Regions from separate parts of the Homo sapiens genome. Here all the other regions are linked to region 1. The links are contacts of gene promoters, found by promoter capture Hi-C in blood cells and fetal thymus (Javierre and others, 2016). All regions are on one chromosome and are shown on one strand. Each heading gives the region's core, a stretch centred on a gene start or on the middle of the fragment in contact. The rest is flanking DNA. Distances are from core to core; before and after follow the strand shown. Region 1 holds the start of TOP2B (DNA topoisomerase II beta). Region 2 overlaps UBE2E1 (ubiquitin conjugating enzyme E2 E1). Region 3 overlaps RPL15 (ribosomal protein L15). Region 4 overlaps LRRC3B (leucine rich repeat containing 3B).

The links. The method cuts DNA at HindIII sites, captures the fragments that hold promoters and counts their contacts. A CHiCAGO score of 5 or more calls a contact.
Region 2: a fragment that was not itself captured here is called in contact with the fragment with the promoter of TOP2B in region 1 in 6 of 17 cell types (total CD8 T cells, activated CD4 T cells, naive CD8 T cells and 3 more); the score reaches 11.8 in total CD8 T cells.
Region 3: a contact is called between a fragment that was not itself captured here and the fragment with the promoter of TOP2B in region 1, in 3 of 17 cell types (total CD8 T cells, non-activated CD4 T cells and naive CD8 T cells). The highest score is 7.5, in total CD8 T cells.
Region 4: a contact is called between a fragment that was not itself captured here and the fragment with the promoter of TOP2B in region 1, in 1 of 17 cell types (fetal thymus). The highest score is 6.4, in fetal thymus.

What each region holds. Positions count from the first base shown.
Region 1 is chr3:25,663,657-25,667,762 of GRCh38, forward strand. It overlaps TOP2B (DNA topoisomerase II beta), which reads right to left and starts at 1,251. Exons shown (of 36, transcript NM_001330700.2): 1 at 573-1,251. The coding sequence starts at 641. MIR4442 (microRNA 4442) reads right to left here and starts at 1,283; the gene lies at 1,217-1,283. RefSeq lists enhancers at 1-30, 988-1,551 and silencers at 318-506, 461-820. The HindIII fragment of the contact is 4,216 bases long and covers 1-1,896 here.
Region 2 is chr3:23,808,234-23,812,339 of GRCh38, forward strand. It overlaps UBE2E1 (ubiquitin conjugating enzyme E2 E1), which reads left to right. Exons shown (of 6, transcript NM_003341.5): 3 at 3,227-3,277. Among named protein-coding and RNA genes, the nearest start is that of UBE2E1-AS1, 3.4 kb to the left of the region's middle. RefSeq lists an enhancer at 1,830-1,889 and a silencer at 2,360-2,679. The HindIII fragment of the contact is 658 bases long and covers 1,381-2,038 here.
Region 3 is chr3:23,920,841-23,924,946 of GRCh38, forward strand. It overlaps RPL15 (ribosomal protein L15), which reads left to right. Exons shown (of 4, transcript NM_002948.5): 4 at 1-149. It also overlaps a transcript of NKIRAS1 not described here. Among named protein-coding and RNA genes, the nearest start is that of RPL15, 5.8 kb to the left of the region's middle. The HindIII fragment of the contact is 3,602 bases long and covers 608-4,106 here.
Region 4 is chr3:26,707,042-26,711,147 of GRCh38, forward strand. It overlaps LRRC3B (leucine rich repeat containing 3B), which reads left to right. Exons shown (of 2, transcript NM_052953.4): 2 at 2,472-3,735. The coding sequence starts at 2,632. The coding sequence ends at 3,411. Among named protein-coding and RNA genes, the nearest start is that of LRRC3B, 86 kb to the left of the region's middle. The HindIII fragment of the contact is 2,847 bases long and covers 865-3,711 here.

The DNA.
Region 1 (4,106 bases), core at 1-2,500:
GTATTAACTGCTGTGAAAGTCATCCCCAATGCGCTCTCAATTGAGCGCATTGAATGAGGCTTTCCAAATTGAAGTGCAAGTTGCTGTAGAAATCCCAATGCATTCTTCTTTGAGATTAAAGCCCCAGAAAGAGCTGCATTTAGAATACACACACACACACACCCCTTTTCCCAGGGTTTTCTTGAACTACATTTGGAGAAAATGCTGCCCCACACAGACACACTTGCATTATCGCCATCCCCACCATTTCAGGTTCGGCTGCCCCGGAAGAGTCTGGTTAAAAAGAAAAGAGAGGAAGCGGGGGCTGTATGTTACGTTCGCGGTTTTGTCCCCCCAAAGTTTCAAGTACACATTACGCTCTGGCAGTCAGGACTTCCAGAGACGTACAGAGAAAGAAAGAAAGAAAAGGCGCGGGGAGCGGGCTGGAGGATTCTGCAAGCACAGGCCCCTATGGAGCGCCCGTTCGGGGGACGGGATTTCCCTCCCTTTCCCCTCCCCCGCCCGTTCGGAATTCCGCCCCCGCCGCGGGCCCGGAACAATGCAGCCGCCCGTCCCGGGGACCAGCCACTTACCACCCAGGTCAGTGCCCCGTTGCCGCCGCCCACGCCGGCTCCCGCGCCGCAGCCACCCGACTTGGCCATGGCGAGTGCCTCCAGCTCACAGGCCCTGAGGCCGCAGCCGCCGCTCCCGCCTCCCTGCGGGCCGCTGGGCCCCGCCGCTCCGCACCCACCGCTCCACTCGCCGCACTCCTAGCCGCGCCGACCCCCGCGCCCCATCGCGAAGATCCGGAGCGGACGTCCAGCCGAGCCCGCTGAGGAGGCCGCGCCGCCGGCTGCCCTCAAACTCGAGGCGCGGCGTCCGCGTCGCCCGGGCCTAGCGCGGCGGCTGAGGAGAAAGCAGGGAGCGACCGGCGGCGGCCGAGCGGCGGCGTTGCCTTCTCGCCCGCCCGCGGGCGCCGCTGCAGGCCGGGCTGAAGCCCGGGCGTGCGAGCCGCGAGGGCGGCCGGGGAGCCCGAGGCGCTCGGACGTGGCGAGGACGCAGAGGTGCCTTGTCCTTCTCACACTCCGCGAAGGCCAGCCACTCGAGTCGCCAGAGTAGTCGTCCCGGTCGCCGCCGCTGCTTCAAAGGCAGCCTTAGCCTCGCTGCAGCCCCGATTTCCTCACACACACACACCGAGAGGGACAATAAACAGAGCCGCCGCCGCCGCCGCCACGGTCACCTCCCTCTTGTCCGGCATAACACCGCACACACACATTTGCACACCGGGGAGAGAGGGAGGGCGCGGCGGCCGCCCCCGCTGTCAGTCAGCGCCATGCTGTCCAATCCGGGCCTTGTCGCCACAGCCTCTCGGCCAATCCCAAAATTCCAAGCCCCCTGGAGGGGCGGGACCCGAGGGGGGAAACGTCATTGCGGGTAGCAACCGAAAGGAAGACTTGGGGTTTTTGTTTGTGTGTGTGTCTGTGGGTTTTCCATTTGAAGGGAGAGCAGGGGCTGCTTCAAGGGTCAATTGAGGGCGGCAAAGGGAAAGGGTCGAATTGGCCTCGGGTCGATTGTAATCCTCCAAGCGTGCTGTTTACTCTGAGACCTAACCGGGAATCCGAAGCGTTTGCCTGGGGCCTCTAAGGATGAGGATGGGGGCGGGGTGGGGATGGGGGTGGCAGGAAGAAGCCGGGGGCCGTCCCAAAGGGAAATTATTTTAAAAGAGCGGTTGTAAACCGCAGGCAAGACGTTGTAGACCACTGGTGCAAGGAGGCCCCGTGACCCGGCCTCCCCAAGGGCCTAAGTGGACGCTGCTGTCGAAAAAAATCATCTCAGACCTTCTCCATCTCCTTCTTCCGTCTCCTCCCCTCACCCCAAAAGAGCATATGGTCAGTTTCAAGAAAACTACATATGAAAAGCTTAAATGATAAGGGACACACAGAGAATGTTCTAGGGAAAGAATGCAGGGTGGGTTGAGTGTTCTATTTCTACTCTTTGTTGACCTTTCTTCTCTGAACAATGCAGAGATGTCACTGTCACTTTTCTCATCTGTCCAGAACTGTGCCCCCTGCCTCTAAGAGGGCATGCTTAATTTTTAAAACTGTTTTCAGTGGAATTTTCAAATGCACAGTAAGGAATAATTTCATTCACATTAAAGCTTTCTAAGAATGAAAATTACCAATACAGCAACATCACAGTCTTTGGCAGATGGAAGATGGCTTTACTTCTTCCTGTTTTTCAGTGTAATTCCACTCAAGTATTTATTGGGCGCACACTCTGCCACGCTGTGCCAGGCTCTGCGATGGGTTCAAAGTAAAAACAAGGCCCCTGATTTCAAACCATTTATAACCTGGCTTGTGAGACAGACTAAAAGGGAGCCAACGATCACCAAAATGAGTACTTGAAGGCATGAAGTGCCACCAAAGAGTTGTGATGAAAGCTTTTTATAAAGATGAAAACAGTATTACTGTTTTTTGAAGAGGTGTTTTTGTGAACTTCCAACTGTGCATTTCCTCTCAAGGGAAAACAAAAATGTCTCAGGTCACATCTTTAAACTGCATTCTGAGTCTAGAGGTGGAGAACTCTGAAACATGGAAATAATTTAAACATAGTTTTTTTAATTAGCTCTCTGATGGCCATGTAACTTTGCCATACTAGGGACTTCAGAACAGTGAAGCCTTTCTTTACCTTGAACTTGGGGTGCAAACTTTTCTGAACCTGACCAAGTATCCATAGCCTTGTTATTTAACTTCCCTGAGCCTCAGTTTAGTGCTTGTTAAAATGATCTTGTGTTCTTACTGTGAGTTTGCATCTCCAAGTACACATGTATTTTGTTTGAAAAGGGGTAATTTTAAAGGCAATGAGTTTTTTTTATGAAGATGTACTAGGTAGAAGCTAAGCTATAAAATACATAGCTGTCTCCTTTTTTAAACTTAAGTTGTCAAAGCTCTTTATCTTCCGTTTTTGTTGTTGTTTTTAGAGACAGAGTCTTGCTCTGTCACCCAGGCTGGAGTACAGTGGCATGATCTCGGCTCACTGCACCCTCCACCTCCCAGGTTCAAGCAATTCTCCTGCCTCAGCCTCCCAGGTAGCTGGGATTACAGGCACCGGCCACCATGCCTGGCTAATTTTTTTTACTTTTACTAGAGACGGGGTTTTCACCATGTTGGCCACCCTGGTCTCGAACTCCTGACCTCAAGTGAGCCGCCCATCTTGGCCTCCCAAAATGCTGGGATTACAGGCATGAGCCACCGCACCCAGCCTAGGTTCAGATTTTGAAATGAATAAAACAATATATTCAAAACTCAAATAGATTAATAAAAATAATGTTCTTTTCACTTGCCTCATATGTGAGGCATTGAGTCCTTTTGTCTTCTCAGTATGAAAAAGCCTTTTAATAAGTGTTACTAGTTTTAAGAAAATACTGACTTACCCAGAAGAATTGCAAATAAGAATTGCTGAATATACATGAAAATCAACATTTTTAAAGCAGAGATTTGTGATGAGTGGAAGACGGAATCTAGATTAAAAGTATCTCAGCTTCTAAAGAATTGTCCTTTTTAACTGTGCAGCAGACTTAGCATATCTTTATGATAAAATTGATTGTACGCAACTTGAGCATAGCTTTCTCTTCTGGGGTAATGTGAAGTAATTTTCAATTAGGGGTGGATCACCTGAGGTCAGGAGTTCAAGACCAGCCTGACGAACATCATGAAACCCCTTCTCTACTAAAAATACAAAAATTAGCCAGGCGTGGTGACCTGTGCCTATAATTCCAGCTACTGGGGAGGCAGACATAGGAGAATCACTTGAACCTGGGAGGCAGAGGTTGCAGTGAGCCGAGATCGCACCACTGCACTCTAGCCTTAGCGACAGAGCGAGACTCCATCTCAAAAAAAAAAAAAAAAAAGCTTCTATATCAGGTTTGTCTAGTTTTAGATACTACTTTGTATGTATATATTACATATAATGACTTAATTTCTACCCCACAGCAAGCACTGACCAAAAGGAAAAACTAGAAATTAGTCATTTCTATAAACTGTATAAAGGTCTTTATTTAATCAAGATTTCTGAGTAGCTTCCATAGGAGCTTATCCTAACTACTTCAGAATTTCTATTTTTAGATC
Region 2 (4,106 bases), core at 460-2,959, 1.9 Mb before region 1:
TTATTCTTTTCCTCTTAAGCCTCTGGAGGTAGCTACTTTTTACCCCTGCCATCCTTCAGTAATATCCTCTGATCGCCATGACCCTCAAAATCATCTTTAGTGGATTCCTAGGAGCTCTGAGACACCCTTTCATAAATCCTTCTGCTCTCAGAGTTAGGCAGTTGTTAAAAAGGTGGCAAACCAGGAAGATAGTAAGAACTCCAAATGATGGGATAGGGATACCCTTCTTAAAAATTTTTAAAATAAAGTAGAACATGAGACTTTAGATCTCTCCACTGAGTAGTGAGCCTGGAAGTCAGGGTTTGAGAGTTTGTTCTGTCATTCTCCCTGACTTGTAATTTGAAAACTTGGCAGTGTTTTGGTGACCTAACCATGGGCTGATGAAGGAGTGACTTTTAAAAAATAGTGTGGAGGTCTTAAGTGGCAAGGTGCCTCTGCAAGATTGTTCTCATTTTTATAGGTTTGGTTTGATTGTACAGCTTCTCAGGAGGCCTGACTGACCCTCACTGATTAGCCCTGTGCGGTTTTCCTGGAACCTGACATCTACTCTGCCCACTTGGGACGGGCCCTTCCTTAATACTGCGCCCCACCTCAATCCTCTAGGCTCTCTGATCCTCATTCACGTTTTGGCCTCACGTGCTCAAGCCAGGATACTTGCTTTTGGTAATTTGCATTTTTATATTTTGCTAGATATCCCTGGTGTACATGAATATATTTGGGGGTAAAGACACAGGTATCAAATAGAAAATACTCTGCTTTTGTTGTGAGTGAATTACAGAGAGGGGGATTTTTTTCACTAGACATACTTTGTTTATTTTAAACAAGTTAAGAATTTATTTGGAAGTTCTGGAAAAGAGATGATAGGTGTAGAAAAATGAAAGGTGGGAAGCTACAAATAGTAATTTTACCTATAAATTAACATCAGGGCTTTTGTTTTGTTTTTGCAATGAATTTAGCTCCTTGATAATCTTGCTGAAAGAGTAGCTATTAGTGTTAAAGCAGACCTAAAGTTAATAGAAAAAGGTAAAAAAATGGAGAGGGACAGTGTATCCAGGAAAGAGAATGGGGAAAATTGATGTTAGTGGGACCCTATAGAGGCTGTTCTGTGAAGTATATTGATTTGGAAGGTAGGTGTTGCCCATAGAATTGGAAGGGGCACATTCACCAGGAGTAGGAGTGAAAAAGAAGCCTGAATTGGCAGACTAACAGGCTGCTAACTGCATGTTGGAAAGTGGTTTCTAAACCGTGGGTAGAGGAAAGCCCCCATTGCAAGTGGTCTGAACAAGAATGACTCTCTGGAAATAGGTATGAGTTACTCCTGCAAATCTCTTGCCAGTTTTTTGGAAATGCAAATGCTGTCTGTCAAGATGAAGTTGATAAAGCTTTTTGGTATTAACGCTTCTTAGGTATTAAAGAAACAACTACCTTTTTTTGTGACTATTTTATAGTGGGAGTTGGGTTGGCAAGGAGGACTGAAGTCAATATGTATTTTTATATGCGTTGTGCTCCGGGGAGGAAATTTTTGCCTACGTGTGTAGGTCTTAAAATACAGTTATTTGAAAAGATTCAGGTAAAGAATCAGGAAACCAATTTTCCAAACTTTGAGTCTAATGTACAGTCATGAGTCAAACAGCGGGAGTATGAATGTCTCAGAAATGAAACGCTTTTTGATAGTAGAATTTAGCAGGACACAAATACGTGTCAATTGAGATTGTGAACAAACCCCTTTCTAAAGTTGACAGATACGTAGGGACAGGAAATGTCCTCCAGTAGGAAGGTTTATAGAACCTCCCCCAGTCGTCGTCCTTAAAACCTGTTCCTCATTACATATAGCTCGTCCGTCCTCCTACCCGCAGAAAACCTTTGGAAAGGAAAACGTATCCTTTGTGAATTAGATTGCTCTGTGTGTGTGTTTAAAATTTTTTTAACTACAGTGCTGCCTCGGTGAGATTTTTAAGTTGTAACATAGCCCCATTGGGCTTTATATGATAGGAGGAGGAAAGGTTATAAAATTAGGCACCGTTTAGAAGGTGGAAGAAGCTTAGAGGCCCTAAACTGTCGTATTAATTGATGCTCTAAGTGCCTAGGTAAGCAAAAGACAAAGGCCAGGGCTTGGTGTGAACTGCCTGGTGGCTTCGGCCTATGAGTGGGGGATGGGGCCCTTTGTGAAGTCGAGGGTTGGTGCGGAGGGAGAAAACTGCAGGTCTCCAGTCTATCCCCAGTGTGAGCTAGAGAGCGGACCATGAAGGAAGTGGGCAGACCCCGGGAAGTTAGAGGACGCCCGGGGAAAAGCAGGTCCGGGGAGGTGGGCCGAGAGTCCCGGCCAGCGTGCGGGGCGGAGGCAGGGTCCGGTGCACCTGTGCGGCCGCGGGCCGGCCACTTGGGGTCTGTGGTGCCCGAGTGGCGGGCGGGGGTGTTCGCGCCCTGCTTTCGCGCGCGGTCTCGGGCCAAGGTTCTGGGCGCCGGGAGAGGAGAGCTGGGGCGGCGCGGAGCAGCCCCCGTGCGGGCACCCTGTTCCCCTCCCCCGCCCGCAACTTCACCGGCGCGGCGCGAGCCGTCGGGGGCGCGCGCGGGGTGGGGGCGGCGTGGCCGGGCGGTGGCAGCCCACCGCTGGGGAGCGACCTGCGGTCTGGGCCTCCCGGGCACCCCGCCACGGCTGGCAGGTCACTCGGGCCCGAGGGGCCTCGTGGGGAGCGGCCATGTTGGCTTCGTCACTGAGGACTCCGGGCGGGTCGGGTGTTGAGCGAGGCCTCGGACCTTCGGCCTGTCGGGGGCGCCCTGCCGGGGTGGGCATGGGGGCATCTGAGGGGTGAAAGGGGCAAGGGAGGCTGGAGGCTGGCGTCCTTCCCACGCACCGATGGCTGTGATCTCTCCGTGCTGGGGAGAGGTGCAGGGGAGGGACTGAGGAAACCGGTCGGCAAGTGAGAAACTTTAAAATTAGGTCCTACATGGAAAACACCGAGGAATAGAACTGCCCTGGTGTGCGAGGCAAGGTTGGAAGCCAAACTTTGCAGATGAGAACAGGAGATTCCAGGCTGCCTCACTTCCTCCGTGAAAAGTTTTTTTCCTAAACTAGGGACCTGAAGTTCTTGATGTGTAGTTCCTCTTTGCCCAGTAGAATCCAGTGATCGCGCTTAGGTTTATCTGCAGACCTGCACGCTACAGGTGGGAGGCTTCCGCGCCTTAATGCTTCTTGTGTTTGTCTTTCCCATTTCTCCCACTCCAGAATTCAGAAGGAGCTGGCGGACATCACTTTAGACCCTCCACCTAATTGCAGGTGAGTTGCTTTTCGGATTTTTTCCATTTTTAAAATTCTTCTAACCTTTGTCTTGGGTTTTTCTTTTTATTATATACTTTTTCTTTGATTCTTTGGCTAATGCTTGTTATGGCACTAACATCACGTAACAGCTGAAATTTATTAACCTGAGTATAATGTTTTGATGAGCCTCTGACAAGCTCAGTACTGTTGAGAAGAAGTAATGGATTTATTTGGAGTGGATTTTTACATATATGAAACAAAACTAAAGTAAATTTAAAGGTGTCTCCTTGCCTAATCATGGGTCTTTGATATGCCATTAAAGATGATGTAAAACCTTTCAGATGCGAAGGACATTTTGGTTTGGAAAACTGCTTTGCTACAGTAATCTCTTATTCAATCTCTGCTAAGCTAAGAGAACATTAGAGTTAAACACTGGATCTTCAAACTTACTCCATAGCATATAGATTTTTTATTAGACTTTTGGCAGAGCAATTCAGGAAACAATTTCTGGCTTTGATAAAGGTTTTCTTTTAAATTGTAGAGTTAAACTTTCATGGGGTGTTTTTTTCACTTGCTTTATTCAGACTGTATACATATGTGTGTTTCAGTTTCAAAACAAATTGAAACCAGCTTTCTAAGGGTTTGTTGATCACAGCTTTATTTAGAGAAGCCATTTTGCTACTGTTGAGTCAAGGTGGAAGACTTGATGACTTTACTAGATCAACAATGAAGTGAGGGTAACTTACAACTATGTATTAGAATAGAACCATTTATTTAAGGGAGGTCCTGTAACTCCCATACTTTAAAAATTAAGTATAACATTTAACCTAGTTCTCAAGATCGGCGT
Region 3 (4,106 bases), core at 1,159-3,658, 1.7 Mb before region 1:
AAACAAATGGACCTTCTGTTATTTTTTGTCATCTTACAGTGCTAATGTACTTTAAAGCAAACCAAATGCCCTAACCAGCAAAAAGGCATCAAAATGTGATTATAGAAATAATATAATTTGAGATAGCATAAAATGTACTTATTCTCTCAGTTCTTTGATCATTGCATGAATTAGGTTTTTATCTAAAACTGTTCAGCTGGGTGTGGTGGCTCAGGCCTGTAATCCTGGCACTTTGGGAGACAAGCTGGAGGATTTGTTGAGGCCAGCCTGGGCAGCATAGTGAGACCTAAAAACAAAAAAAATCCTTAAACATGACTAATTTGGGAAGGAGAGAAAGGGTTCGGGCCAAAGGTCAGCATTGTCTCTACAAGAAAACCTTGTTCCTGTCCTTGCTACCCAACAGTTTTATCTCCACACAGTAGTCCAAGGGATCCTATTAAATTGATCATGGCACTCCCGTGCAAAAAAATCAAAAGTCCTCATGATAGCTTTCATGATCTTCCCACTTTATGTGTGACCTCATGTCCTACTGCAGTCCACACCCCAGGCTCCTTGCTGTTTGTTCTTCAAATACACCAAACACTTCCTAATGCCTTTATGATGGGAAAGCTTTACTCCAATATTAAGGGTCACTTTATTAGCTATACCCTGACCGCCCCACAAGCTGTTCCCATTTGCTTTACTATTTCTATATTGGCATGTAATTCACACAGCAACATTGATTATTGAGTTTTTTTTTTTTTTTTTTTTTTTCCAGATGGAGTCTCACTCTCACTCAGGTGGGAGTGCAGTGGGGCAATCACGGCTCACTGCAACCTCTGTCTCCCGGGTTTGAGCAATTCTTCTGCCTCGGCCTCCCAAATAGCCAGGACTACAGGCGCACACTGCCATGCCCAGCTAAGTTTTGTATTTTTAGTAGAGACTGGGTTTCACTATGTTGGCCAGGCTGGTCTCGAACTCCTGACCTCAAGTGATCCACCTGCCTTGGCCTCCCAAAGTGCTGGGATTACAGGCGTGAGCCACCACCCCCAGCCCAATTTTTATTTTTTGTACAGACAGGATCTCACTATGTTGCCCAGGTTGGTCTCAAACTACTGGCCTCAAGCAATCCTGCCTTGGCCTCCCAAAGTGCTGGAATTATAGGAATGAGCCACCACACCGGGCCCAAATTTACTTTAGTAATAACAACAATTGGCTGGGTGCGGTGGCTCACGCCTGCAATCCCAACACTTTCGGTAACCAAGGTGGGCTTGAGCTCATGAGTTAGAGAGCAGCCTGAGCAACGTGGTGAGAGCCCATCTCACAAAAAATAACAAATCAGCTGGGCATGGTGTTGCACGCCTGTAGTCTCCGAAATCACACCACTGCACTCCCATCTTGGGTGATAGAGCCAGAACTTGTCTCAAAAATAACAATTGGTTTCTTACAATCCCAAAAGGTGCAGTTACTAGTATTAATCCTTTTTTGCCAATGAGGAAACACAAAGATGAAGCAACTTGCTCAAAGTCATACAGTGACAGTCTGAATTCAAATCCTATACACTTAAAGTTTATTTGTTTTGTTTTGGTTTTTTTTGAGATGGAGTCTCACTGTGTCGCAAGGCTGGAGTGCAGTGGCACGATCTCAGCTCACTGCAACCCGGGTTCAAGCGATTCTCCTGCCTCAGCCTCCCGAGTAGCTGGGACTACAGGCACGCACCACCACACCCAGCTAATTTTTGTATTTTTAGTAGAGACGGTTTCACCATGTTGGCCAGGATGGTCTCGAGCTCCTGACCTCAGGTGATCCTCCCGCCTTGGCCTCCCAAAGTGCCGGGATTACAGGTGTCAGCCACTGCACGTGGCCAACTTAAAGTTTTTGATAGATAATACATTAACGTTAAAAATTCAAAAGATAAGTATAGGCTCTACAGTACAAACCCTTCTGCCTCCTAGTTCCTCTCCCTGGAGGCAAGGTGATCAGTTTAACAATATTTTTTTATTTTGAGACAGGGTCTCACTGTTGCCCAGGCTGGAGTGTAGTGGCGCGTTCACAACTTACTGTAGCCTCAACCTCCTGGCTCAAGCAATCCTCCCACCTCAGCCTGTCGAGTAGCTGGAACCACAGGTGCACACCACCATGCCAGGCTAATTTTTGTATTTTTTGTAGAGACAGGGTTTCACCATGTTGTTCAGGCTGGTCTCAAAGTCCTGGGCTCAAGCAATCTTCCTGTCTCTGCTTCCCAAAGTGCTGGGATTACAGATGTGGGCCACGGTGCCTGGCCTACATATGTATTTTTTCCTTTTCTTCCCCAAGTGGTAGGATATGATACACATTGTTGATTTTTTTGTTTAGTTATGTATCTCAGAGCTTATTCTTTATCAGCTCATGAGGAACTTCATTTTTTTTTTTTTTTTTGAGATGTAGTTTTGCTCTTATAGCCCAGGTTGGAGTACAGTAACACAATCTTGGCTCGCAGCAACTTCTGCCTCCCAGGTTCAAGCGATTCTCCTGCCTCAGCCTCCGAGTAGCTAGGATTACAGGTGCCTGCCACTACATCCAGCTATTTTTGTATTTTCAGTAGAGACGGGGTTTCACCATTTTGGCCAAGCTGGTCTCGAACTCCTGACCTCAGGTGATCCGCCCATCTCAGCCTCCCAAAGTAGTGGGATTACAGGCATGAGCAACCGTGCCCGGCTGGAACTTCATTCTTTTGGTATAACTGCATGGTATCCCATCATGTGGATGTACCATGATTCATTGGATGTGGACCCTCCTGATGGACATTTAAATTTCTTCCAATCTGTTGCTATTACAAAAAGAAAAATGTGTGCATACATCTTTATTCATCTGTAGAATAAATTCTTAGAAGTAGAATGGCAGAGTTAAAAATTGTATGTATATAATTTTTTATAGATATTGCCAAATTGTCTTCCATAAAAGTTGAACCAATTTTCACTACCACCAGCAAAGTAGGAGAGGACTTGTTTATCCACACCCTCTTTAATGTATGTAATCAAATTTTGGGATATCTGCCAGTCTGTTAGGGGGAAATGATACTCTTCTCTACTTTTATTTTGCATTCTGAGTGTGGCAGAGGCAAAGCTATGTGCATACCATAGCTTTTTCTCCCCCTGAAAACACAACTAAACTACATTGTTTTCCTGGCCTCTCATGCATTTAGGTTGGGGTCATATTACTTCCCTCCAAGAAAAACAACAGTTGGTATGCCTCCTCCACACTTCCCACAACTGTGGAAGCCAGTGATCCAGATAGCATAGCTATTAATACAAGATGGGTGAAAGCTGCTCAACCGCATCAGACAGCATGAGTGGTAAGATTTTATTGTGTCAAACGACTGCATTAGTTGTGTTTTGTTATTATGGCAGCATAGCCTAGCTTAGCCCTAACTAATTCAATAAATAAAGTTGAGCATTATTTGTACATTTAAAAGCGTTTTTTATGTTTGCTTTACAGTGGCTTTCCACTTTTCTATCAGAGAATCCCCCCTCCCTTATGTACCATGCTATATTAATAAATTGGAAGGAGCTGCTAGCTCATTTCTCCTATGCTTCATAATTTTTCTGCTCATGAGATTCTTATTTTTTGAGACGAGTCTCTGTCACCCAGGCTGGAGTACAGTAGCACGATCTCAGCTCACTGCAACCTCCACCTTCTGGGTTCAAGTGATTTTCATGCCTCAGCCTCCCAAGTAGCTGGGATTACAGGTGTGCGCCACTACTAATTTTTTTGTACTTTTAGTAGAGGCGGGTTTGCACCATGTTTGCCAGGCTGGTCTATTACCCCTGATCTCAGGTGATCTGCGCCCGTCTTGGCCTCCCAAAGTGCTGGGATTACAGGAATAAGCCACCAAGCCTGGCCCTGCTCATAAGATTCTTGAAGGTAACTTTATGTAGAATAAATTCTTCAAATTTCAACTGTTCATTTTCGCCTTTCAATTCTAAGTTCTGATTTCATCTTTAAGTTCTGAAATTCCTAAACCAAATTAGTAGCTATATTGTATCAGGCAGACTAAATGAGGCAACAGTAATAGCCTCCAAATTTCAGTGGCTTAAAATAATAAAGATTTGTTTCTTGATCATACTTCATGTATGTTAAAGATTGTT
Region 4 (4,106 bases), core at 1,038-3,537, 1.0 Mb after region 1:
ATCGAACTTTTACTACCAATTTCGTACTGTGCTAAGCGCAGTGGCTCATACCTGTAATCCTAGCACTTTGGGAGGCGAGGCAGGTAGATCACTTAAGGTCAGGAGTTCAAGACCAGCCTGGCCAACATGGTGAAACCCTGTCTCTACTAAAAATACAGAAAAAAAAAAAAAAAAATAGCTGGGCGTGGTGGTGTGTGCCTATAGTTCCAGATACTCGGGAGGCTGGGGTGGGAGAATTGCTGGAACCTGGCAGGCGGAGATTTGCAGTGAGCCGAGATCACACCACTGCTCTCCAGCCTGGGCAACAGAGCAAGATTCCATCTCAAAAAATAAAAATAAAATAATAAATAAATAAAGCTGATATACAAACTCAGTGTACTTTTTATTTTTTTAATTGCTTACTATTGTCTCTGCAAGAGGCAGAAACAAGCCTCTGCTGTCATGGAGCTTGTACTCTGAATAGAGAACACTTCTTTTCTATGCCAAACTCCTTTAATGAATCCCAAGAGAAATATGAAGTGTCCTCCAGAAAAGGCTTCTCATCTTTCAGCATGTTTTAGGCTGGTTGCATATACTCAATGGATGGAAATCACTTGGCTGATGTGGACTCCCTTTATTTTCTTCAATTACATTAATTAATTTCTTCCATCTCCTGTGTTTTTCTCATGCCCTTTTCCTAGAATTCGTTGCCTTGTCCTTCTACTCCTCTGTCTCCTCTCTTCCCTTCCACACCTGTTTTTTTTTTTCTTTCCCATCTAGATTCCTAGAGTCCCCAAGTACCATGCAATACAGTTTTGAAGGGAAACATGAAAAGGAGGACACTTTCATTGCCAATGAAATGATCTGTTGATGGAGGGCTTAGTAAGCTTAGGGTCTCTCTTTAGCATTCTCTGGTATTTAAGGGACTCGACTCAGTTTTCCAAAAGCACGTCTGCTCCATTCTGCTGTTGCTAATCTCATTTTTTCCATGATTAACAATCCAGATCATTATGTTTTCAGCTCACATTAATCTTCTCTTCTGTGAGTTTGGTAACATTTGGAGTCATTTCCCTTTGTATTTATCCATCTGGGATCTTCATAAAAGACAAGTTTTCAGAAAGTCATTAGTTGCTCATGCAGAAAGTTGTTTGTTGTCCACTGCTGTAAGAGGACTGAATGCTCTTCTTGTTTCTTAGATCCTGGGAGGGAATCTTCTAAGTCAGGCATGGGTTCCCTACAAAATGCAGAGGGACCCCTCACTTGAGCTCCATGGGGTCCTCAACTTGGAACAGTATTCATAGCATAAAAGATAGGGCTGCAACATAACAGCATCAGAAATCACAATAAGCAATACTTGCTGGATACTTATAGAGTAGATGAGACTGGAAGAGAGTGTGTGGATAGTGGAAAGAGTTTTGATATTAATGAGTCAGAACAAAGACTTTGGCTTGAGTCCTGTCTCTACACCTCAATCTGTTTGACCTTGGGTAAGTAACCTCATCTCTCTGGGATCCACTTGTCTCCTTTGTGAACTGGTCCCAAAGATGTGTGCTTTCTTCTCTATATTAAAGGGTAATTTTGAGAGTTAACTTATATTCTTATCTCTGCTGTCGAGTAAGTTTCATAACTTTGTTCATCACTTAATTTTGCAATTTCTGTAGCCCCTGCCAACACTAACAGTATATGTATGCAACATGCAACATATGGAGAGTGAAGTCTATTGGGGAAGTCTTCAAAGACAGTATTTCTTAATTCTCTTGTTATATAAAAAAGTCATGGAGGTGTGTGCCATATTTAAGCATTTATTGGGAAGGGGATATGGTCCTTAGAAAAGAGAGAGAAGATCCTCTGGAAATTCAGTTAAAAGCATCCTCCCAGGTATAATGTACTTTAAAGAGGTCACAAGGAAGGCAACTATCCTGGAGGTTCTTGGTTGTCAGCCTCTAGCAATATTTTGTTGGAATGCATTTATTATTTTCTTAATTCAAGTAAGATGTTTCTTTAGAGACAATATTCCAAATTGGGCATCCATTCAAAAGCCATGACAGATATCCCTGTCTATAGTCATTAACCATGAAATATTGGTATTATTTCTCATTGCTGCCCAAGTGCAGGACTAAATTACATTAATGCATCTGTTATCTCAGAAAGGGTGAGAGACATAATTAAATTTTATTTCTGTAGAATTCGAAGGGGTCCAGGATGTGGAGAGCAGCAGAGAAATAGGGAGTATTTGTTCTCATTCTATCCAACTGAAAACCAGGCAACAGAACTCAGAAATATCTTCATATGTTCACAGTTCTCTCCCCCAGCACCTGGGATTTGAACAGGAGACTCCCATTTCGCAGATAACTCCCAGTGGCATTGATGGAAATTACCTGCATAACTAACCCCCCTGCTCAAGCAGAATGCCAGACACCTGAGAACACCTTTCATTACAATGTACCTCCCTTTGCAAAGGAACTAATTGCATCTGTTTCTCTTTCCTTTAGGTGCCCAAGCAAGGAAAGAAATAATGAAGAGACACATGTGTTAGCTGCAGCCTTTTGAAACACGCAAGAAGGAAATCAATAGTGTGGACAGGGCTGGAACCTTTACCACGCTTGTTGGAGTAGATGAGGAATGGGCTCGTGATTATGCTGACATTCCAGCATGAATCTGGTAGACCTGTGGTTAACCCGTTCCCTCTCCATGTGTCTCCTCCTACAAAGTTTTGTTCTTATGATACTGTGCTTTCATTCTGCCAGTATGTGTCCCAAGGGCTGTCTTTGTTCTTCCTCTGGGGGTTTAAATGTCACCTGTAGCAATGCAAATCTCAAGGAAATACCTAGAGATCTTCCTCCTGAAACAGTCTTACTGTATCTGGACTCCAATCAGATCACATCTATTCCCAATGAAATTTTTAAGGACCTCCATCAACTGAGAGTTCTCAACCTGTCCAAAAATGGCATTGAGTTTATCGATGAGCATGCCTTCAAAGGAGTAGCTGAAACCTTGCAGACTCTGGACTTGTCCGACAATCGGATTCAAAGTGTGCACAAAAATGCCTTCAATAACCTGAAGGCCAGGGCCAGAATTGCCAACAACCCCTGGCACTGCGACTGTACTCTACAGCAAGTTCTGAGGAGCATGGCGTCCAATCATGAGACAGCCCACAACGTGATCTGTAAAACGTCCGTGTTGGATGAACATGCTGGCAGACCATTCCTCAATGCTGCCAACGACGCTGACCTTTGTAACCTCCCTAAAAAAACTACCGATTATGCCATGCTGGTCACCATGTTTGGCTGGTTCACTATGGTGATCTCATATGTGGTATATTATGTGAGGCAAAATCAGGAGGATGCCCGGAGACACCTCGAATACTTGAAATCCCTGCCAAGCAGGCAGAAGAAAGCAGATGAACCTGATGATATTAGCACTGTGGTATAGTGTCCAAACTGACTGTCATTGAGAAAGAAAGAAAGTAGTTTGCGATTGCAGTAGAAATAAGTGGTTTACTTCTCCCATCCATTGTAAACATTTGAAACTTTGTATTTCAGTTTCTTTTGAATTATGCCACTGCTGAACTTTTAACAAACACTACAACATAAATAATTTGAGTTTAGGTGATCCACCCCTTAATTGTACCCCCGATGGTATATTTCTGAGTAAGCTACTATCTGAACATTAGTTAGATCCATCTCACTATTTAATAATGAAATTTATTTTTTTAATTTAAAAGCAAATAAAAGCTTAACTTTGAACCATGGAAAACAGAGTGACTTATTGGTCAAGAAAACAGTATAGTCATTCTACTTGCTCTAAAGAAAAACAGACAACCTTTATGAACTCAAAGAACTATCACAATGAAAAAATGTGTTATTAAGCCCTACTGTACACTGGGGAGCCGTAGCTGAATTACTGGCCGAGTTAAGTGTCTGTCAGACTCTAAAATACTGAGCTTTACTAGGTGGTTATACACAAGTGTGGCATCCTTCAGAGGCTTAAGTCAGGATGCCTTTTGGCATTTACTCTTCAAAAATAGATATAATTAGCTATTGAATCCAAATACTTACTTATTGTACCTTTGCTCTATGCTGGACAAAATGGAAAAGAAAAAGACAGCACATAGCCTGTACTCAAGA